7 separate regions of the Homo sapiens genome follow, and all the other regions are linked to region 6. Evidence: promoter capture Hi-C in 16 types of primary human blood cells and fetal thymus (Javierre and others, 2016). All regions are on one chromosome and are shown on one strand. Each heading gives the region's core, a stretch centred on a gene start or on the middle of the fragment in contact. The rest is flanking DNA. Distances are from core to core; before and after follow the strand shown.

Region 1 (2,700 bases), core at 1-2,500, 280 kb after region 6:
GCAGCCTGGATGATTGTGGAGACTTCAGAGAGCGGCTTTAACTCTGGCTGGATGCAGCATGAAATCTGAGCATGAAGTCTGGGTATTAGTTCCAGGAAGCCCTTTAGGAGAGCATGTGGAAAAGTGACATTTTAGAAGTATACTATTAAGAGGAAAATTAATATAATAATAATAGATAATAACAGCTAACATTTATTGAACACTTAGTATGTGCCAGTTACTGTGCTAAGTATACTTATGTCATTAAATCTGTAGTAGAATAGTAGATGCACTCTTTCAGAATAGTTAATCTTGAATTTTTAGGATCTCTCAGAACCTCTTTTTTTTTTTTTTTTTGGGAGGTGGAGTTTCACTCTTGTTGCCTAGGCTGGAGTGCAATGGCACAATCTCGGCTCACCACAACTTCCTGCCTCCTGGGTTCAAGCGATTCTCCTGCCTCAGCCTCCTAAGTAGCCGTGATTACAGGCATGCGCCACCATGCCCGGCTAATTTTGTATTTTTAGTAGAGACGGGGTTTCTCCATGTTGGTCAGACTGGTCTTGAACTCCCGACCTGAGGCGATCCACCCGCCTTGGCCTCCCAAAGTGCTGGGATTACAGGCGTGAGCCACTGCGCCTGGCCTAATTTTTTTTTTTTTTTTAAGAGGCAGAGTCTTGCTCTGTTGCTCAGGTGGCACAATTAGAGCTCAGTGCAACCTCCAGTTCCTGGGCTCAAGCCATGTTCCGGCCTCAGCCTCCCTAGTAGCACACCACCACACCTGGCTAATTTTAAAAACAATTTTTTTGTAGAAACTGAGTCTTGCTGTCTTGCCCAGGCTGGCCATTTTATGAAAAAAGGTGACACAGGGATGTTGATTATATTCATGTCTGATTGTCCAATGGGGAAAACTGATGACTGAATCCTAGAATACAAACTGCTAGCCTTGGGATATGTATTAGGAGTTTCTAATTCTTTTATTTGATGAGGGAGGCATCTTTTATCAGGGAACAAAGAACACGTGCCTGGAGCTTTAATTCACTTTTAGATTTCTTAGTGTTCTAATATGCATTATTAGTATTGTTAATGCTACCAAAAATCACTGGCGTTTGAAGTGAGTGGACATCATTCTGCTCATTTTTTACATACCCTTTTAGTCTGTTGAAAATTAATTATATTGTTTATTCATCTGTAATATATATGCCCATTGGCAAGATAACTTCATGATTTACCTCCTTCCTCTAAAGGTATTCTTTAAAGGTATTAAAAATTATAACTAATTTTATTCTAGAAATATTTCTATTGGACCATTGGGTAACAGATTAAATTTCACTGCAAGTGTTTTAAAAGGTTTTTGTTTTGTTTTGTTTTGTTTTGTTTTTTAAGAGACAGGGTCTTTCTCGGTTACCTAGGCTAGAATTTAGTAGTGTGGTCATAGCTCACTGTAACACTGAACTCCTGGGCTCAAGTGATCCTTCATCTGGCCTCCCAAGTAGCCAGGACTACAGGCACATACTATCATGCCCAGCTGATTTTTAATTTTTTTTTGTAGAGATAGGGTCTCACTATATTTCCAGGCTGGTCTTGAACTCCTGGGCTCAAATGATCCTCTTGCTTCTGCCTCCCAAAGTGTTGGGATTACAGACATGAGCCACTGCACCAGGACCAATAAATGAATTCTTAATGAGACTTGGACCTGGAAATCTCTAATATTTTATGTCTGGTGACATATATAGACTATATTCTTGGTGCTTTTAGTTTAGAATCATTATTTTATTCTGACTCTTATACTACTAGATGGTTATTGCTATGTGATTTAGTAGATAAACTTTTAAATGACACTGCTACATAAAGAAACACTAAAACAATAAAGATAATTTAATATTTGTTGTTAAAAAAAAACTTTTTGAAATGTGTGTTGTTTACATACATAAACAGAAAGGCATATTAAATATCCCAGCATTCCTTCATACATCCTTATGGCTGGTTGCTACTGCCTGTGTTTTTATTCACACAGCTTCCTTTATATCAGTGGTCCCCAACCTTTTTGACACCAGCGACCAGTTTTGTGGAAGACAGTTTTTCTGTGGACCCAGAAGTTGGGGCAGGGTATGGTGGAGAGATGGTTTTGGGATGAAACTTTTCCATCTCAGATCATCAAGCATTAGATTCTCATAAGGAGTGCACAACTTAGATCCCTTGTATTTGCAGTTCATGATAGAGTTTGCAGTCCTTTGAGAATCTAATGCCAACGCTGATCTGACAGGAGGCAGAGCCCAGGCAGTAATGCTCCCTTAACACACTGCGCACCTCCTGCCATGCGTCTGGGTTCCTAACAGGCCAGGGACCTGTACAGGTTTGGGCCTGGGGGTTTGGGACCCCTGTTTTAGATGACAAAAATATATAAAAGTATCATACCCCATACATTTTCCTTATTCAGTCGGATATTGGAAATCATTACGCCTGGTATCAGCTATTCTGGATATTCTATTTTGATGCTTCATCAAAACTCTACAAATGTTAGTTTCTTAAAGATAGTTGCATTATTGATTCTGAAACTGCATCAGTGAATCTGTTGTTACATTAAAATTCACTGGTCTATCTTGGACTTTTTACCCAGTGGTCTGTCTTGGACTTTTTACCCAGGTGTGATTTTGTAACATTCATTGGTTATTTAGAAAATATGGTTCACTGAATTACACAGATCTCCCAAATGTTGAAACA
Region 2 (2,700 bases), core at 41-2,540, 380 kb after region 6:
GTAGAATTTTTCCCCCTTCATTTCTGAAATTTTTTGCTCACCGCCATGTTTAAATGGGGTTGAATCATAGCGAGCCATTTGCTCTTGCCAAAGTGAGATAGATGTACTGAGGAGATAATTGAAAAGTCAGACTCTGTACTGTGGGGCTTTAATCGGAGCACTGCTGGAAATGATTGCAGAGAATGTAGTGCTTCATATATCCATGACCAAGATTGACATGTTGCTCACAACATGTCACAATTTAGTGAGGAGCTACATGTATTTCCAAGAATTCCAGCATAGATTATAATTTAAATAATCGAATTTGGTATTTAGGTACATTGTTTATATAGCCAAGTGTATATGCTTTACTACCTAACAATTATTCTAGCCTAGGTGAATCCCTAATTGAAACACCTGGCTAACACTTTAGACACATAAATTAAGTGGGATACAGTTTTCTCATTTGTATTATCTCCAGCTTCAACCTCATTTATCCTTTTTCCTAGTATAATACATTGTTTTCAACCAGAAATTAAAGTAGATATCCAACATTATTTTCAGTGCTTGTACTTCATGAGAAATAATCTGATTTTCAAGACACCTCTTAAGTGCATTTGCATTTTATTTTGGTAATGGCAGAGACCTCATGTGGCCAGTTTGATTGATTGAAGAATGTATCACTCTTATTCAAGCAAAGGAATTCAGACTTAAATGCCTACCTCTGTGCTGAAGCTGACAGACAGTATTAACTCTTATCAAGGCCATCTTTTAGACCTGATTTTCATTTATATGAAAACAGACCTGTCCATGTCTAATAAGTAAAAACTGATAGAATACATTAAAAAGTCACTGGTTTATCATAGAAAAGTTTGATGGGTTTAGAGCTCAGTGATTTAAGCTTGTAAAACTGCATTCTTGGGCAAAATATTTATATTGTATATAAATGGTTGGCAGCTTATTCCAGTTGATCTCTTCACATCTGCCTTAAAAGTGCTATGTAGAGATACATTAACAGAGTTATAATAAAACAGTGTTTTAAAATCTAGCCTATAAACAAAAACTAGTTTGAGGCACCCAAGCATTTAGTGAGAGATTGAGAATGATGCTTAATGGATCAAAAAAGCAATTAGGAGTATGTTCCTGATTTTATTCTCTAAATTATACTCAATTTCATGGTAATTACATGAAGAAGTTACCTGCAATTATTCTTAACACTACATGGAATTCACTGGGTAATTGTGGGTCATTTATTTCCTGAAAGTCACGTGAAATCCTTAGCTGGTTGAATGTTGCACAGTATTTGAGAATTACGGTTTGAAGTGATTTCTGTGGGAGGGAATCATTGCAATGTATATTCTAAATAAAGTCATCTAACTATTAAAAAAAAAACACCCTTCCTAACCCTTCTTTTCTTAAAATTCCACATTCATCCACAATCTCATCCCTTTGTAGAAATTCTTGCCTGAATTCTCACCAAGTTTTGAATTCCTAAGGTAGCCCCGATCTAGGATGTGAAGGCTGCCCAGAAAAAGTTTATGGCTGGAGGAGTATCATACAGTGTCTACATATGATAGTACTTACAGATTAGGTCTTTGGATGCTTTAACACAAAAGATTTTTGTTATCCTTATTAGTCAAATAACGCTATTCTTTTGTGGTTCTAGACCCTGGCTTCTATCTCCCTGTGATTTGTTTTAATGCTGAAATGACTTGGCTATCCAAAGCTTCTAGTCTAGAGGTCTGTTGGTTGAAGGCAGACATTTCCAAGTTTGTTGAAATAATACGAAGCTGACTAGCTTACGTGAATGATGTTGCCCTCATTTGTTTTGGGTGAGGACTCATTACTGCAGTATATTGATCTCTTCACCAAATGCTTTTTCTTTTTCTGAATAAATGCTGTATTAGAGGTTCTATTTATATATGATTTTTAAAACTTTGGTTTCCTTCTATCCACCAAATACTGTGAATTGTTTTTCCATTTATTTTTCTTAGCTAATGTAACTTTATTCTTCACTTTTTTTTAGCCCTAGACTTCCTAGATTTTCTGTGGCATTCTGTAGGACATTGTATTGCTTGGAAAAAAAAAGATCAAAATCATTCTGGGGCAAATGCTCTATTATCCTTATTTATGACAAGAGAATAATGAAATTCATAAGAAATTAATAACATTCAGATATTGCTATAAATGTACTTGAGTCATTTTCATTTGGGGATAGTAATAATGGCTGTGGCAGCTTTAATGGAGAAACCTGTGTTGGCCTCTTTTTCTGGCATTAGGATCTCTTGTCATAGAACTATTGGTAAAGTACAGGTTTGATAGCAGAGTTCCTGAATTCAGCATATCATCAGAATTTCCATTTACCTTTTGTCTTTTCTTTTTATTGTATTTTTTAACCTTTTTGTTTCTATTCCTACCTCCCATGAGTAACATTGATTTCTGCTGAAGTTAGAATTTGTGTTAAGAATTGACTTTAAACTTCTGAAATAGTTGAATATTAGAAGTGGCTTCAGTTGCCATGAAATGATTGCTTTTCTTTTTCTTTTTTTTTCCTTAAATAAAAATAATGCAGCCTTATATATGTCTCTTCCCCTCAAGAATGTGAATTTAGGCTGGGCATAGTGACTCACGCCTGTAATCCCAGACCTTTGGGAGGCTGACACGGGAAGATTGCTTGAGCCCAGGAATTTCAGACCAGCCTGGGCAACACAGGAAGACTCC
Region 3 (2,700 bases), core at 180-2,679, 360 kb after region 6:
GGGCTTACTGTTCTTCATTTTCTATAGTAACTTGTTTTTGTTCTGTTTATATGTTTTACAGACATTTAATGTTATTAAATGACTTTCTCATTTAAGTCTCAAAACACAAAAAGTGTTTTTTAGATTTTTTTTTTCACAGTTGTTATGATCATCATCATTGTGCCTGTTGTCAGGACATTGACAGCTGACTATCAACTATATAACAAAAAAATGTTATTGGCTTCCTCCAGTCTTCAGAACATGGGTTCTGAATTGGTGATGAACTTACAATAAATCTTATAAAAAATGATATTTTTTTCTAGAAAAGCCATGAGAAAAGGATGCCTAATCAATTATACCACTTTCAGAGAAGACTTCTATAATAGAGAAGGAATGAGAATAAGTTTTCAGCTACAATAACACATTTTATATTCATTACACTTCTGCGGAGTTTCCAGAGTGCTGGTGTCATTCATTTAACAGTTGTGTATCGATTCCCCATAATAGGTCAGGCATTCTAGGCAGAGGAGCTGTATCAGCAAACCCAACAAGATCCCTGCCCAGGAGGTACTTACATTTTAGTGGAGAAAGACAATAAACATTAAAGAAGCAAATTATATAGTACATTAGAATTGAATAAGTACTGGGCCGGGCACAGTGGTTCACGCCTGTAATCCCCGCACTTCAGGAGGCTGAGGTGGGTGGATCACCTGAGGTCAGGAGTTCAAGACCAGCCTGGCCAACATGGTAAAACTCCGTCTCTACTAAAAATACAAAAAATTGGCCGGGCATGGTGGGAGGCGCCTGTAATCCCAGCTGATCGGGAGGTTGAGGCAGGAGAATCTCTTGAACCCGGGAGGTGGAGGTTGCAGTGAGCTGAGATTGTGCCACAGCACTCCAGCCTGGGCAACAAGGAGTTACTGTAGCTCAGCCCAAAGTAATAGTAGAGCAGTGAGAAGTAAAATAGAGCAGATTCTTAATATATTTTAAAGATAGAACCAACAGAATTTTATGATAGATTAGATCTAGTGTTTGAAAGAAACGACTCAAAGGTTTTGGCCTGAAAAACTGGAAGGATGGAGTTACTATCAACTGAAGTGAGAAAGTTCTGTGGGGAACTGGTTTGTGGGGACTCCTGACTGGCATTCAGGAGTTTAAATTTGGAAATGTTCAGTTTGAGATATCTATGAGACAGCCAACTTAAGATGTTGAGGTGACTGTTGGATATTTGAATCCAGAGTTTGGGAAAGAGGTCTGTAATATCCCTTGGTATGTGTTAAAATCCTTAGGCCAGTACATACAGTTCACTTATTTAATCAGATTGTTAAGATAATAGTTTTCTCCTTATCCTATATGTAGAGCCAATACAATTTATTTTTCACCTTAGGAGTTAGAAAAGAGGAACAAATTCAACCCCAAATAAGTAGGAAATAAGAAATTCATGAAATAGGAAACAAACAATGGAGAAATTTTAAAAGTGAAAAGTTGGCCTTTTGAAAAGGTAAATAAATTGATAAACCCCAAGCAAGACTTACCAAGTGTATTAGCCTGTTCTCACACTGTTGTAAAGAACTACCTGAGACTGGGTAATTTATGAAGAAAAGAGATTTAATTGACTCACAGGCCCACAGGCTTAACAGGAAGCATGACTGGGAGTCCTCAGTAAACTTACAGTCATGGCAGAAGGTGAAGGGCAAGCAAGCACCTTTTTCACATGATGGCAGGAGAGAGAGTGACAATGAGGGGGGAAATGCCACACATGTTTAAACCATCAGATCTCATGAGAACTCACTATCACAAGAACAGCAAGGGGGAAATTGGCCCCTGTGATCCAATGGTCCCCCACCAAACCCCTCCCCCAATTCAACATGAGATTTGGGCAAGGATGCAAATCCAAACTATATCACCAAGAAAAAAAGTGAAAACATAAATTATCCACATCACAAATGAAAAGAGGGCATCAGTTTAGACCCTACATATATTAAAAGTAAAGTGGGTATGGAAAACTTCATTGACAAGCCGCAACTTGATGAAATTGACAAATACTTTAAAAGACACAGTTTACCAAAACTGACACAAGAAGAAATAGAAAATCTTAAGGAACTCCATATCTACTACAGAGATTGAATTTGTAATAAAAAATTTTCTAACAAAAAAAACTCTAGGCCCATAATAGCAGTAAATTTTATCAACCATTCAAAGAAGGAAGAAAAAAATACAATTTTACATAGACTCTCAGAAATTAGAGGAAGGCAATACTTCTTAAATCCTTTTATAAGCCAGGTTAACTTTGATATAAAATCCCAACAGAAGCTGGGCGTGGTGGCTCACGCTTGTAATCACAGCATTTTGGGAGGCTGAGGGGTGGATCGCCTGAGCCCATGAGTTTGAGACCAGCTTGGGCAACATAGCAAAAACCTGTCTCTACAAAAACATGCAAAAAATTAGCTGGGTGGTGCCATGCCTGTAGTCCCAGCTCCTCTGGAGGCTGAGGTGGGAGGATCACCTGAGTTCAGAGAGGTTGAGGCTGCAGTGAGCTGTGATCATACCACTGCACGCTGAACCTTGGTGACAGAGTGGGATCCTATCTCAGAATAAATTAGAATAAAATAAAATCCCAAGAGAGACGTTACAAGCAAAGAAAATCATGGACCAATATTTTTCATGAACATAAATGTAAAATTCTTAGGAAAATTTTAGTTAATTAGGAATATATTAAAA
Region 4 (2,730 bases), core at 2-2,501, 410 kb after region 6:
TCACTGCAACCTCCGCTTTGTGGGTTCAAGCAATTCTCCTGCCTCAGCCTCCCAAGTACCTGGGACCACAGGTACACACCACTACACCAGGCTAATTTTTGTATTTTTAACGGAGATGTGGTTTCACCATGTTGGCCAGGCTGGTCTCGAACTCCTGACCTCAGGCGATCCACCCTGCTCAGCCTCCTGAAGTGCTGGGATTACAGGTGTGAGCCATCGGGGCCGGCCGTATATCTCTCCTCTTATAAGGATACCAGTCATTGGATTTAGAGCCCTCCCTAATCCAGTATGACTTCATCTTAACTTGATTACATCTGCAAAGACCCTATTTCTAAGTAGGGTCACCTGCACAGGTACCAGGTACCAGAGATTAGGACCTGAACATGTCTTTTTGCGGGGGGAATGCCATTCGCTCTCCTGATCTGCTCTCCTATATCCTCGTGAAAATACCAGGAGTCTTTCAAACATTCGAAATTAACTCTGTCTGCTTTAAAGAGAAAGTAATGTATTAAAAAGATAATGCGTTGGCTAATAAAATACTTGAGGTGGCTAAAGAATCAAGCGTAAGTCAGAAACAGTGCTCAAGACCTCTTCTCCTGAACGGGTCTGGTGAGGTCATCACTTCTACCATCATCGAGCATCAGTTTGCACCACTGGCAACATTAGTATTGGATACTGGCTTTTATTGGGGATGAGAGTGTTTAAGGATGCTGTCCGTAAGAGGTCTTTCCATTTACTTTTATGACTGGCACCATGGGGAATCCCCTGGGTTCTAGCCATATTCCTTCCTGCTTCATTATTTAGCCCCATGTAGGGTTCAGGCTAAGTCTGATAAAATTTAACAGGCCACTTATCCTGCCATAGAGTGAGCTCCTTGGTAAAGCCTATGGTCTGTGGGGTAATTGTGATGGTGAATAAAGCATCCTGGAAGTCCAGAAACGGCGCCGCTGACAGAAACGTGGCAGCCTGGAGGGCACACGCAGGTCCAGAACGGGCCGCCCTCCACCACGCCACTTGGTCACAGATCCACAGCGCCATCATTAGGCGATGGAGAAGAAAACTGATATGCTGAAGGGGTCATCTTGCCCATCTGATTACCCAGAGCCTTTCTCTAGACGCAGGCAAATATCCTCACACTCCAGACCTATCCCTGTGGGTCCCTCCACAGGCCTGCCTAACCTTCCAGGTCACACTGATTCTCCATTGCTGTTCCTTCTGAGTTCCCTAGCATTGTTTTAAAAATGATTAGCTCCTGCTGATGAATCTGTTCAGAGCCTCGCCTCAGTGGACCTTTCCTTCAAAAACAAAAGACCAGGAAATGTATTCTTTAAAGTCCTGGCCACTGGGAGAATTTTCTTTCTACGCCACCCTTCAGGATATAGAGCTTTTCTCCTGTCACTGTCCAGTTTGGGCTGGTACTAGCATATTATCCCAAATCATATAAAACCAGGCTTGGTTTTTTCACTCCTCATTCAGCTGATCTCGGGTAACTAATTCTCTTAGAGACCTTTAGGTATGGGTGGGGGTAGGAACAGGCATTCTGAGGGTGTGAGCCGCGCTCCAATTTCCATTGTCCTCCTTTAAGACCAGCCCAGGCCTGGTCCTCTATCTACCACCTTCAATCTAACAATAGAAAGCCACAAAACAACCTAAAGAAAAAAATGGAGGAATGAAAGAACAACCAAAGAAATAGAAACCAAAATACAATAGCACATATCAAAATCAAAAATTGTTTTTTTTAAACAGGCTAATAAAGTGCCAAAAAGTCTTTGGAGAGGTTGATCAAAAGGGGAAAAAAAAAAATCCAAAGGCATAAGTAAACAATGTGAGGTACAAAAATAGTAATAGTTATTTAAAGCATAATACCTTATGGGCAAATATTTATAAATCTGAAGCAGACGAGACAGACAAATTTCTTTCTTTTTTTTATTTTTTTGAGACAGAGTCTCACTCCGTCCCACAGGCTGGAATGCAACAGTGTGATCTTGGCTCATTACAATCTCCTGGGGTCAAGCAATCCTCCTACTTCAGCCTCCTGGGTAGCTGGGACTACAGGCATGTACCACCACGCTCAGCTAAAATTTTTGTATTTTTTGTAGAGATAGGGTTTCACCATGTTGCCCAGGCTGGACTCAAACTCCTGGGCTCAAGGGATCCATCTGCCTCAGTCTCCCAAAGTGCTGGGACTACAGATATGAGACACTGTGCCCTGCCACAAATTTCTTGGGAAAGAAAAAAACTTACCAGAGTGACTCAAGGAAAACGGAAATAATCATTTATCCTATAATCATAAAGAAATTGAGCCTTTCCAACTTGGGTGCGGTAAAATGGCTCCTGCGAAGAGGGTGGTGAGAAGAAAGGCCGTTCTACCATCAACGAGGTGGTGACCCGAGAATGCACCATCAACAATCCCAAGAGCTTCCTGGAGTGGGCTTCAAGCAGCATGCCCCTCAGGCACTCACAGAGATCCAGAAATTTGCCATGAAAGAGATGGGAACTCCAGATGTGCGCATTGATACCAGGCTCATCAAAGCTGTCTGGGCCAAAGGAATAAAGAATGTCCCATACCTATCCCTGTGCGGTTGTCCAGGAAACAGAATGAGGATGAAGATTCACCAAACAAGCTCTATACTTTGGTTACCCACGTGCCTGTTATCACTTTCAAAAATCTATAGACAGTCAGTGTGGATGAGAAATAACTGCTGACTGTCGAATATGTCAAATAAAGGT
Region 5 (2,700 bases), core at 58-2,557, 300 kb after region 6:
TTTAACCTTTACCCTGCTTTAGTATTTGCAGTATTTACTGACTTTTTGCAAGAATTTTGAAAAGTCTCAAAGGCAAAGAAGAAAGGAAATTTGGTGAGCGTGCCTGTAGGATGGAGGTTTCCAGTTAAAGCCAGCTGAAAAGTCTTGAAAGCGAAAGGGTTGGTTACAACTGAGCTTCATAATTACCCAGAAAAGAAAGATTAGGGGGAGTGCTCTAAATTGGTTGGTCTCTGGTGAATATATAAATCGCAGAAAACAGTTTTACTTTTAAATTGAGTCACATGACAGAGTTTAATAGTAAAAGTAACTTTATAAATTATGATCTATTTGGGTGCATGTAAAAGCTAGGGTTTCTAGCTTAAAAAGTAAGGAAATGTTATTGTAGCACATAGCAAGAAGTCCAGAGGTAAGGCAGATTTCATGGTTGGTTGATTCAGTGATCATTTCTTTCTTTCTCTGTGCTGTATCATCATTATAGAATTGACTGCATTCTTGTACTTCGACAAATTTGCTTTAATATTTGTATACATTACATGCAGATATTCCAGAGGAATAAAAGTAGATTTTTTTTTCTGTATGTCTCTTTAGAAGTAAGGAAAAATTGCCTAGAAGTCTCCCAGAAGATTCCTCATGTTTCATTAGCCAAAATTGGGTTCCATACTGTTCTTAAACTAATCTTTGTTGAGGGCCATGGGAGTAGGGCTTCATAATTATTTAGGTGTGTATGTGGGGGGATGTATGTAGGGAGTTCAGTCTCCATACCATTACAGTAACTAGTGTAACAACTTAAGTAGATTATGAGTTTATCAATACAGCAGAATCAGGAGTAAGGAAAACATGGTAGAACTTTAGTACCAGCCCCACCATTTAAGAGCTGTGTGATTTTGGTTAAGTTTCTTACTTTTTTTAAATACAAATTTCTGGATTTATAAAACGGAGATGATAATGTGTAGTTCATAGGATTGTTTTTAGAATTAAATGAGATGAGACAGCATAAATTCTAACATTTGGTAAGTGTTCCATAAGTATAGTTTTATTACTGCTGTTAGTACTTTTATCTTTATGTAGTTTTGTACTCAAAACTGTATAATAATGGAATTCACATGTTAAAGTTAGTGTTCCCTTTTCCTGAAAATGTATCAAGGACCTAGACCAAAATTATTGGAGCTCTATTTTCTTCTCTAGTTCTCTTGGATATGGGTGGCAAAAAGTACTGGCACAAAGCACTGTTGGGGGAAAGAGATTAGGATCCAATGAATCCATGTCATTATAGGATGTAAAGATTAAGAATTTCATAGTTGAAATAAAGACAAGTGGTGGGAGATCACAAAAAGAAAATATAATTCTCCTAATCTTTAGTTATCCTTTCCTCTTCTTAATTATATTTATGATAATGATAGAAATGATTTTTTAAAGATATATAAGATCTTTTTTCAATGAAGTAGAACATTTATTCAGATTATTTATTTTTATTTTCTCCTGCTTCTATTTTGCAGCCTTAAATTGTCTTATGACTTTTTTTCCCCTCCCAGTTCACTCCCTTTTCCTTCTTTCAAGGTCTCTAACCCTCTGATAATGTCACATACGTGTCCGTTGAATGCAACAGTGACTTTGTATCTAATACATACAGTGATGATGAGAAACATAGTACGTTTAATATGAGCTTCCCCTAAAGCAATTTGTTTGCATGGTTGTGTCAATTAATATTTTACTATTTATATTTGAGGTAGCATGAAGTGAAATTGAAGTGATGCATATTTTATGAAAATGTGCTTTTGTATTAGTGACATATTAGTAATTTCTTTTAATGTAGCCTTTTAAATTTTAATTTTTTTCTATAATAAATAATGTAAGTAGTTAAGGTGTAATTCTTTCTCATTCTTCAATATTTGCAGATGGCTTGTTCAATCAGTATATCAGTCAACAGGAATATAAGCCACGATGGAGTCAAATCATTCCCAAAAGTACCAAAGGTAAGCCATACCTTCTAGATTGTAGTTCTTTTTCATTAATGTCTCAGTCTTCAGTTTTCCCAAGGTAGTTCAAGTATCATAGTACTAAGTTAATAAAAAAGAAGATGTTGGCCAGTTGCAGTGGCTCATGTCTAATCCCAATACTTTTGGAGGCCGAGGCAGGAGGATTGCTTGAGCCCAGAGGTTCAAGATCAGCCTGGGCAACATGGTGAGACCTGTCTCTACAAAAAATTAGCTATACAGCCGAGTGTGGTGGCTCACACCTATAATCCCAACACTGTGGGAGGCCAAGGTGGGCAGATCACCTGAGGTTAGTAGTTGAAGACCAGCCTGCCCAACATGGCAAAACCCTGTCTCTACTAAAAATACAAAAATTAGCTGGGCGTGATGGTGTGTGCCTGTAATCCCAGCTACTCGGGAGGCTGGGGTAGGAGAATCACTTGAACCTGTGAGGCAGAGGTTGCAGTGAGCTGAGATCATGCTATTGTACTCCGGCCTGGGAGACAGATGGAGATTCCATCTCAAAAAAAAAAAAAAAAAAAAAAAAAAAAAAATTAGCCAGACATGTTGGCAGGCATCTGTGGTCCCAGCTGCTTAGGGTACTGAGGTAGAAGGGTGGCTTGAGCCTGGGAGGTCAAGGCTGCAGTCAGCCGTGTTCATACCACTGCACTTCAACCTGGGCAACAGAGCGAGACTCTGTCTCAAAAAACAAAACAATAACCACAGC
Region 6 (2,700 bases), core at 60-2,559:
TTTGATACATAATTACCATCACCACGGCTTTCAAGCTTTCTGGAATTACGTTCCTCCAGTAACTGTTGATGATGCTTGCAGGAGGCAAAATGCAATGCAGTTTTTCTCTTCCGCAGCTATATTAGGGCTTTGTTGCTGACAACAGTGAAAACTTGTTTGTGTCAGGAAGTGAGGTACGGAGATATGACCTGGAAGGTACAGACAAAACCAAAGTGGCAGTTTTTGCATTACTTTTCTGACCACATTCTTTCAAATGGTGACAAGAAGGCGGTCTGCTGTAAAATTCGTGGGGTGTTTGATGGGAAACAAAATAATCAGAAAAACATAATTATCCCTAGCCATACCATACTTGCTAGACGCTAGAAAGTATACATATATGTAATCTCTGTATACATAGAGAAAGCAAAAAGCATGTGCACTTTAATATTTTTGAACCACTAATTTTGTCATCATTTGTACCATTAACAAACACTTGGAAAGACTCACTCAAGTCCAGGGATGTGTGGAAACTCACAATGTTGAGTGCTGTGGGTATTACTGACTCACAGTCCCTTAAAGGGTTTGTACCATAAATCCCAAATTTCTGCCTTAAAGTTTTTACAGACATGGAGATTTTATCCTGTAAATCTAAGCCAGATAGCTATTTCTGGGTTTTTTAGTTCATGCTTTTCCATTTTATAAAGGAAACTGTGTGGATTGGCGGAATCAAGAAAAACTTCGCAAGAAACTGAAGAGTGGGATGGAAGATCTTTTCGTTTGGCCTTGCCTTGACTCTGTCTCTCTCCACCTCATCAGTTTACTTCATCAGCCATGATGAATGAGCTCCATTCCAACCCTTCTAATTCTATAATATCTCTCCCAAGTTTTACCTTCCTATCTCATGCCTAATTCTTTTCATCCCTTTCCTCCTACCTCCCTTGCCTCCCAACTCAGCCCCTTTTCTGCCTGGGGGCTCAGCTCGGGCCTCCCCAAAGACTGTACCCCCCACCCTCCCCTGCAGCTACCCCCACCCCCACGCCCTTCCCAGCTCGGCCTCTCTTCTTTGCAACTCTACCTCCTTACCTCTTTTGACCTCTAATCACCTTCACAGTCTGGCCCTTGACTTCTGGGCCTCTTCTTACCTCTCTTTACCTGAAATGTCCTGGCCCTCACTGGGGTCTCCTCCACACCCTTCTCTCTGGTCCCATCCCTTCTGCTGCCAAGCCCCAGCGTTCCTCCGGCTCGGCCTGGTCAGCTTGAGCCTCATTTTGTTCGCGTGCCCCTGGGCTGGGAAAGGAGTGTGTGGTGCACAGTGGGGCCAAGGATCCCCTGGGGCCGCGGCCTCTGCCTCGCCCCCTCCACCCCTCCCGAGTCCCGGTTGCGGCGCTTCCTGGGCGGATGGCTTGAAATTGCTGCAGCAGCTGCGGTTCTGCTGTGTCATGCAAGAAGGAGGCGGCGGCGGCGGCGGCGGCGGCCGGAGCTGGAGGGGGAGGAGGGGAGGAACCTGATCCTCCGGTAGCGAAGGGCTAGAGGCAAACACCGAGCTCCTCCAGAGCCGCCCGGGAGCAGGGAGGGCTCCGCTAGCCCGGGGGGCCCTCCCCGCGGGGCAGATGGTAAGTGGGGCGGTGCAGGTGGTCGCCTTGGGAAGGGAGCGCGCAGGGGGGTAAGGTGGGGCGGCGGGAAGTGCTAGAAGTCACCCCAGCCAAACTGAAGGAGCCCAGTTTCCAGCTGAGAGGGACCCAGGCCGTAATAAGGATGTCCAGCCAAACGCAGCAATAATTACTATTGGAGTGACGCCCCGAAGTTGACCCCAAGCTACACAGAGGGTGGAGTGGTGCATCCTGAACCCAGGACAGAGCTGGAGGCAATGATTCAGGGTTTGAGAAGTATCAGCCCATCGGCCTGGCGCTTTAAGGTGCAGCTGAGTAGGAAAAGCCAACCCACATCATATTCCCAGAGCCTTGCTGCGCTTTCTGGGTTGTCTTGTTCAAAACTAGTGAAAGGGATGGGAAACCTGCCCAACCTCACTTTAGCCACGAAAATAATGCTCTTGGCCAGTGGCCTTGGACAAACAGCCTCTGGTGCAACAAAACAATCAATAGGAAGAAGAACTTCATTCCCCTCACCATCCTCCTTCCCCAAGTTCCTTTGACCAGCATACCTCATTCGGCTTAAAGGAGAAAGAAAACTATGTGTGACATTCCCTCCCAGCCTACCTGCAGCCAGCCTCCTCACCACACAAACTGCCCATCCCGCTTCTCTCCTCATCTTCAGAGCCATGATTCCAAGAGACATTGCAATACTACTCACTTTAGGTGAGAAGACTGCCTGAAACTCTGAACAATTTCACCTCCCTTGCCCTTTGCCACAGGGGATTCAGAAACCTACAACTGAGAGCAGGGAAATATACGGACAGGCTTGGCACGTAGGAACATTACTTCCTTCACTGGAGTGTAGTTCTCCAGACAACTTTTTAATTATGATTATTCCCTTCCATTGCACTCCTGGAAATTTCAAAGCACTTTCTAAAACATCATTTTTTTTATGTCAGTCATACATTTAGAGGTAAGGGGTTGATGGGATTAACTGAAAGGCTAATGACTGTCTCAAAAGCACATGCTGTTGCTAGGGAACCCAAGCTCCTGCTGCTCTCTAATCACCAGCGTGTTCCGTGGAAATCAAACTGCTCAGGGTGTTATTAAAATGAATGGCATCGGGTTA
Region 7 (2,700 bases), core at 88-2,587, 320 kb after region 6:
CACCACACCTGCCTAATTTTTTTGTATTTTTAGTAGAGACGGAGTTTCACTATGTTGGCCAGGCTGGTCTCAAACACCTGACCTTGTGATCCACCTGCCTCAGCCCCTCAAAGTGCTGGGATTACAGGCATGAGCCACTGTGCCAAATTGGAAACGCCTATTATTGCATGAAGAAGGGGCTGAATGGGGTGGCTCATGCCTATAATCCTGGTACTTTGGGAGGCTGAGGTGGGAGGATTGCTTGAGGCCAGGAGTTCAATACCATCCTGGACAACATAGTGAGCCCCTGTCTGTAACCCCCACCCCCCCAAAAAAAGTTAGCTGGGCATGGTGGCACATTATTGTAGTCCCAGCTACTCGAGAGGCTGGGGTGGAGGGATTGCTTGAACCCAGGAGGCTGCAGTGAGCCATGATTGCACCACTGCACTCCAGCATGGGCAACAGAGAGAGACCGTGTCTCAAAATAAATAAATAAATAAATAATAAAAATAAAGAAGGATCTATGATACACAATGTTATATGTAAAGATTCATTATTCACTGAAGAAGAAAATCAGTTTTGTCAGCGGTAAAGTCTGTGAATATAATAGACATTTCAGAGTCAGAAGAAACCAAATTCTCAAGATACTTAGAATGACTTAAAGGATAATTTCTGATGAGTTAAATGTACCACAATATATCTGGAAAAATTTCTCCCAGTTTTTATAGGAATATCAAAGCTGTGGATCACTTTTTCTTAAGATATCTAATTTTAACTTAAAGCTAGTTTTAACCATTGTTTTTGATATAGCAATAGAGAGAAATTGCCTTTAATATGACTTTTTTCAAAAACAGCTAAATGTTCTTATGCTGTACTTTTACACTATATATTCCTCTGGGGGTTTTATTTTTTAGAATCTGAATTAAAAAATTCCATAGTGGATAAAAAGTGGCTGCATTATTAAAAAGCTGGTAAATGTAAAGTTTTCAAGGCCAAACACAGAAACTCCAAACCAGCTGCACGTTAAATTTTTCTGGGATACTTTACAAATACAGACCCATTTTTACCCATTGAAAACCTGTGGAATCAGAATCTTGGGACATGCCTCCTAGTTATCTGTATTTTTATAAATCTCTCAAAATAATGGTTCTGCAGCATCCTTTTCATATATTCATGCCTAGGAAATATTAGTCTAGTATATATTTGAGAAAGTTACCAGGTTAAAATTTTTATTTTAAAATTTATTTAGATGTAGCTTCTTAAGTGGCCTTAGAAACAGCTGGCTAGGTTTGGGTGCTTATGCTTATTTTGTCCTTTTTTTTTTACACATATTTTTCTGATTTTCATAGAGACTGTTTATTTGTTTGGTGGCTGGGATGGAACACAAGATCTTGCTGACTTCTGGGCGTACAGTGTGAAGGAGAACCAGTGGACATGTATCTCTAGAGACACTGAAAAAGAGGCAAGTTCTCAGACTTTTCATACATCTATATTACAGAAGGGGCGTAGATGTGCACTTGTTTTTCGGCATGATTATATTCTTCACTAATGTCTGTCAGCAGTAGTAGCAATAGAATTTGTGGTAAACAAGTTTTTTTTAAGTACTCTTGAATTTCAGCTTCTATAACTGGCTGTTCAGCTACTGATACACAACCAAATCTGTTTTATAGAGAGAGAGAGAGTGAGGAATGGGGATTTTTATATCATTTTGTTTTTAAACTGCTTTAGCCTAGAAATGTAACTGTGTAACTGTCTTTTTTGCTTATGTCTCCACTACCTCTATTCTTATTTTTAACATTCATCTTATTTTTATTTCTTCTGGAATATTGTGTTTTTGACACTCACTATCTCCCTATTTTGGCTCCTGTTATTTTACTATATGTCAGTTTTCATAAATGATATATATTATCTTTTTTTTGGAGTCTTGCTCTATCGCCCAGGCTGGAGTGCAGTGGCACCATCTCGACTCACTGCAAGCTCCGCCTCCCAGGTTCATGCCATTCTCCTGCCTCAGCCTCCCAAGTAGCTGGGACTACAGGCGTCCGCCACCACGCCCAGCGAATTTTTTTTTGTATTTTAGTAGAGACGGGGTTTCACCATGTTAACCAGGATGGTCTCGATCTCCTGACCTCGTGATCCACCCGCCTCGGCCTCCCAAAGTACTGGGATTATAGGCGTGAGCCACTGCGCCTGGCTGATACATATTATCTTTAATAAAAATTGTATATATGTATGCATGTACAGATCTGTGTATGCACATATACATAAAGCATTTCCATAGTGAATAAGATGGCTTAGGTTTATGGCTTTGAATTAAGTGCATGATTATATCCTGGAATAAAGTAAATGTTAATTCATTTATTATTTTTTCAAATCTTTATAGAACATTTTAATTGCACTCTCCATTTAAACTGTTTCAGGATATAAAGTGACAAATGAGCTATAACAAAACAGTAGGAGCCTCAAATGAAAAGGAGATAAAACGGCCTAATTCATAACCCACTGATTTTGATCTAGGAAGGCCATTTCCAAAGATCTAGTGCTGTGTCGTTAATCCTGGGGAACTAGGTTCTTGCTTACTCTGAAATTATGTTAATAAAAACTGTCCAGGGATTAATCACTGGACAGTTTTTATTTTTTCAAATAGATGTTGAAATTCTGATTTACTTTTCTTACCCCGGGAAAGTATGTGTAAGTGGCCTTCCTGTTTCAGTATTGAAG

The links. The method cuts DNA at HindIII sites, captures the fragments that hold promoters and counts their contacts. A CHiCAGO score of 5 or more calls a contact.
Region 1: a contact is called between a fragment that was not itself captured here and the fragment with the promoter of LINC-PINT in region 6, in 17 of 17 cell types (naive B cells, neutrophils, total B cells and 14 more). The highest score is 28.3, in naive B cells.
Region 2: a contact is called between a fragment that was not itself captured here and the fragment with the promoter of LINC-PINT in region 6, in 3 of 17 cell types (neutrophils, endothelial precursors and megakaryocytes). The highest score is 8.6, in neutrophils.
Region 3: a contact is called between a fragment that was not itself captured here and the fragment with the promoter of LINC-PINT in region 6, in 4 of 17 cell types (neutrophils, activated CD4 T cells, endothelial precursors and 1 more). The highest score is 14.3, in neutrophils.
Region 4: a fragment that was not itself captured here is called in contact with the fragment with the promoter of LINC-PINT in region 6 in 1 of 17 cell types (neutrophils); the score reaches 6.9 in neutrophils.
Region 5: a contact is called between a fragment that was not itself captured here and the fragment with the promoter of LINC-PINT in region 6, in 16 of 17 cell types (activated CD4 T cells, naive B cells, total B cells and 13 more). The highest score is 20.5, in activated CD4 T cells.
Region 7: a contact is called between a fragment that was not itself captured here and the fragment with the promoter of LINC-PINT in region 6, in 17 of 17 cell types (activated CD4 T cells, neutrophils, total B cells and 14 more). The highest score is 24.9, in activated CD4 T cells.

Annotation. Positions count from the first base shown.
Region 1 is chr7:131,392,284-131,394,983 of GRCh38, forward strand. All of the region lies in intron 4 of MKLN1 (muskelin 1), which reads left to right. Among named protein-coding and RNA genes, the nearest start is that of MKLN1, 66 kb to the left of the region's middle. The HindIII fragment of the contact is 3,174 bases long and covers 1-2,700 here.
Region 2 is chr7:131,489,861-131,492,560 of GRCh38, forward strand. MKLN1 (muskelin 1) reads left to right here. Exons shown (of 18, transcript NM_013255.5): 18 at 1-2,700. Among named protein-coding and RNA genes, the nearest start is that of PODXL, 65 kb to the right of the region's middle. The HindIII fragment of the contact is 825 bases long and covers 879-1,703 here.
Region 3 is chr7:131,473,242-131,475,941 of GRCh38, forward strand. The region is part of intron 16 of MKLN1 (muskelin 1); the gene reads left to right. Among named protein-coding and RNA genes, the nearest start is that of PODXL, 82 kb to the right of the region's middle. The HindIII fragment of the contact is 4,278 bases long and covers 1-2,700 here.
Region 4 is chr7:131,517,811-131,520,540 of GRCh38, forward strand. The region is part of intron 1 of PODXL (podocalyxin like); the gene reads right to left. It also overlaps the pseudogene RPL31P36. Among named protein-coding and RNA genes, the nearest start is that of PODXL, 37 kb to the right of the region's middle. RefSeq lists an enhancer at 1-325. The HindIII fragment of the contact is 7,481 bases long and covers 1-2,730 here.
Region 5 is chr7:131,409,411-131,412,110 of GRCh38, forward strand. MKLN1 (muskelin 1) reads left to right here. Exons shown (of 18, transcript NM_013255.5): 7 at 1,896-1,973. Among named protein-coding and RNA genes, the nearest start is that of MKLN1, 83 kb to the left of the region's middle. RefSeq lists a silencer at 466-666. The HindIII fragment of the contact is 4,257 bases long and covers 1-2,700 here.
Region 6 is chr7:131,108,616-131,111,315 of GRCh38, forward strand. It overlaps LINC-PINT (long intergenic non-protein coding RNA, p53 induced transcript), which reads right to left and starts at 1,310. Exons shown (of 8, transcript NR_170176.1): 1 at 1,122-1,310; 2 at 1-188. It also overlaps a transcript of MKLN1 not described here. RefSeq lists enhancers at 1-162, 2,557-2,700 and silencers at 1,386-1,435, 1,516-1,665. The HindIII fragment of the contact is 3,581 bases long and covers 34-2,700 here.
Region 7 is chr7:131,427,705-131,430,404 of GRCh38, forward strand. It overlaps MKLN1 (muskelin 1), which reads left to right. Exons shown (of 18, transcript NM_013255.5): 9 at 1,329-1,441. Among named protein-coding and RNA genes, the nearest start is that of MKLN1, 100 kb to the left of the region's middle. The HindIII fragment of the contact is 5,953 bases long and covers 1-2,700 here.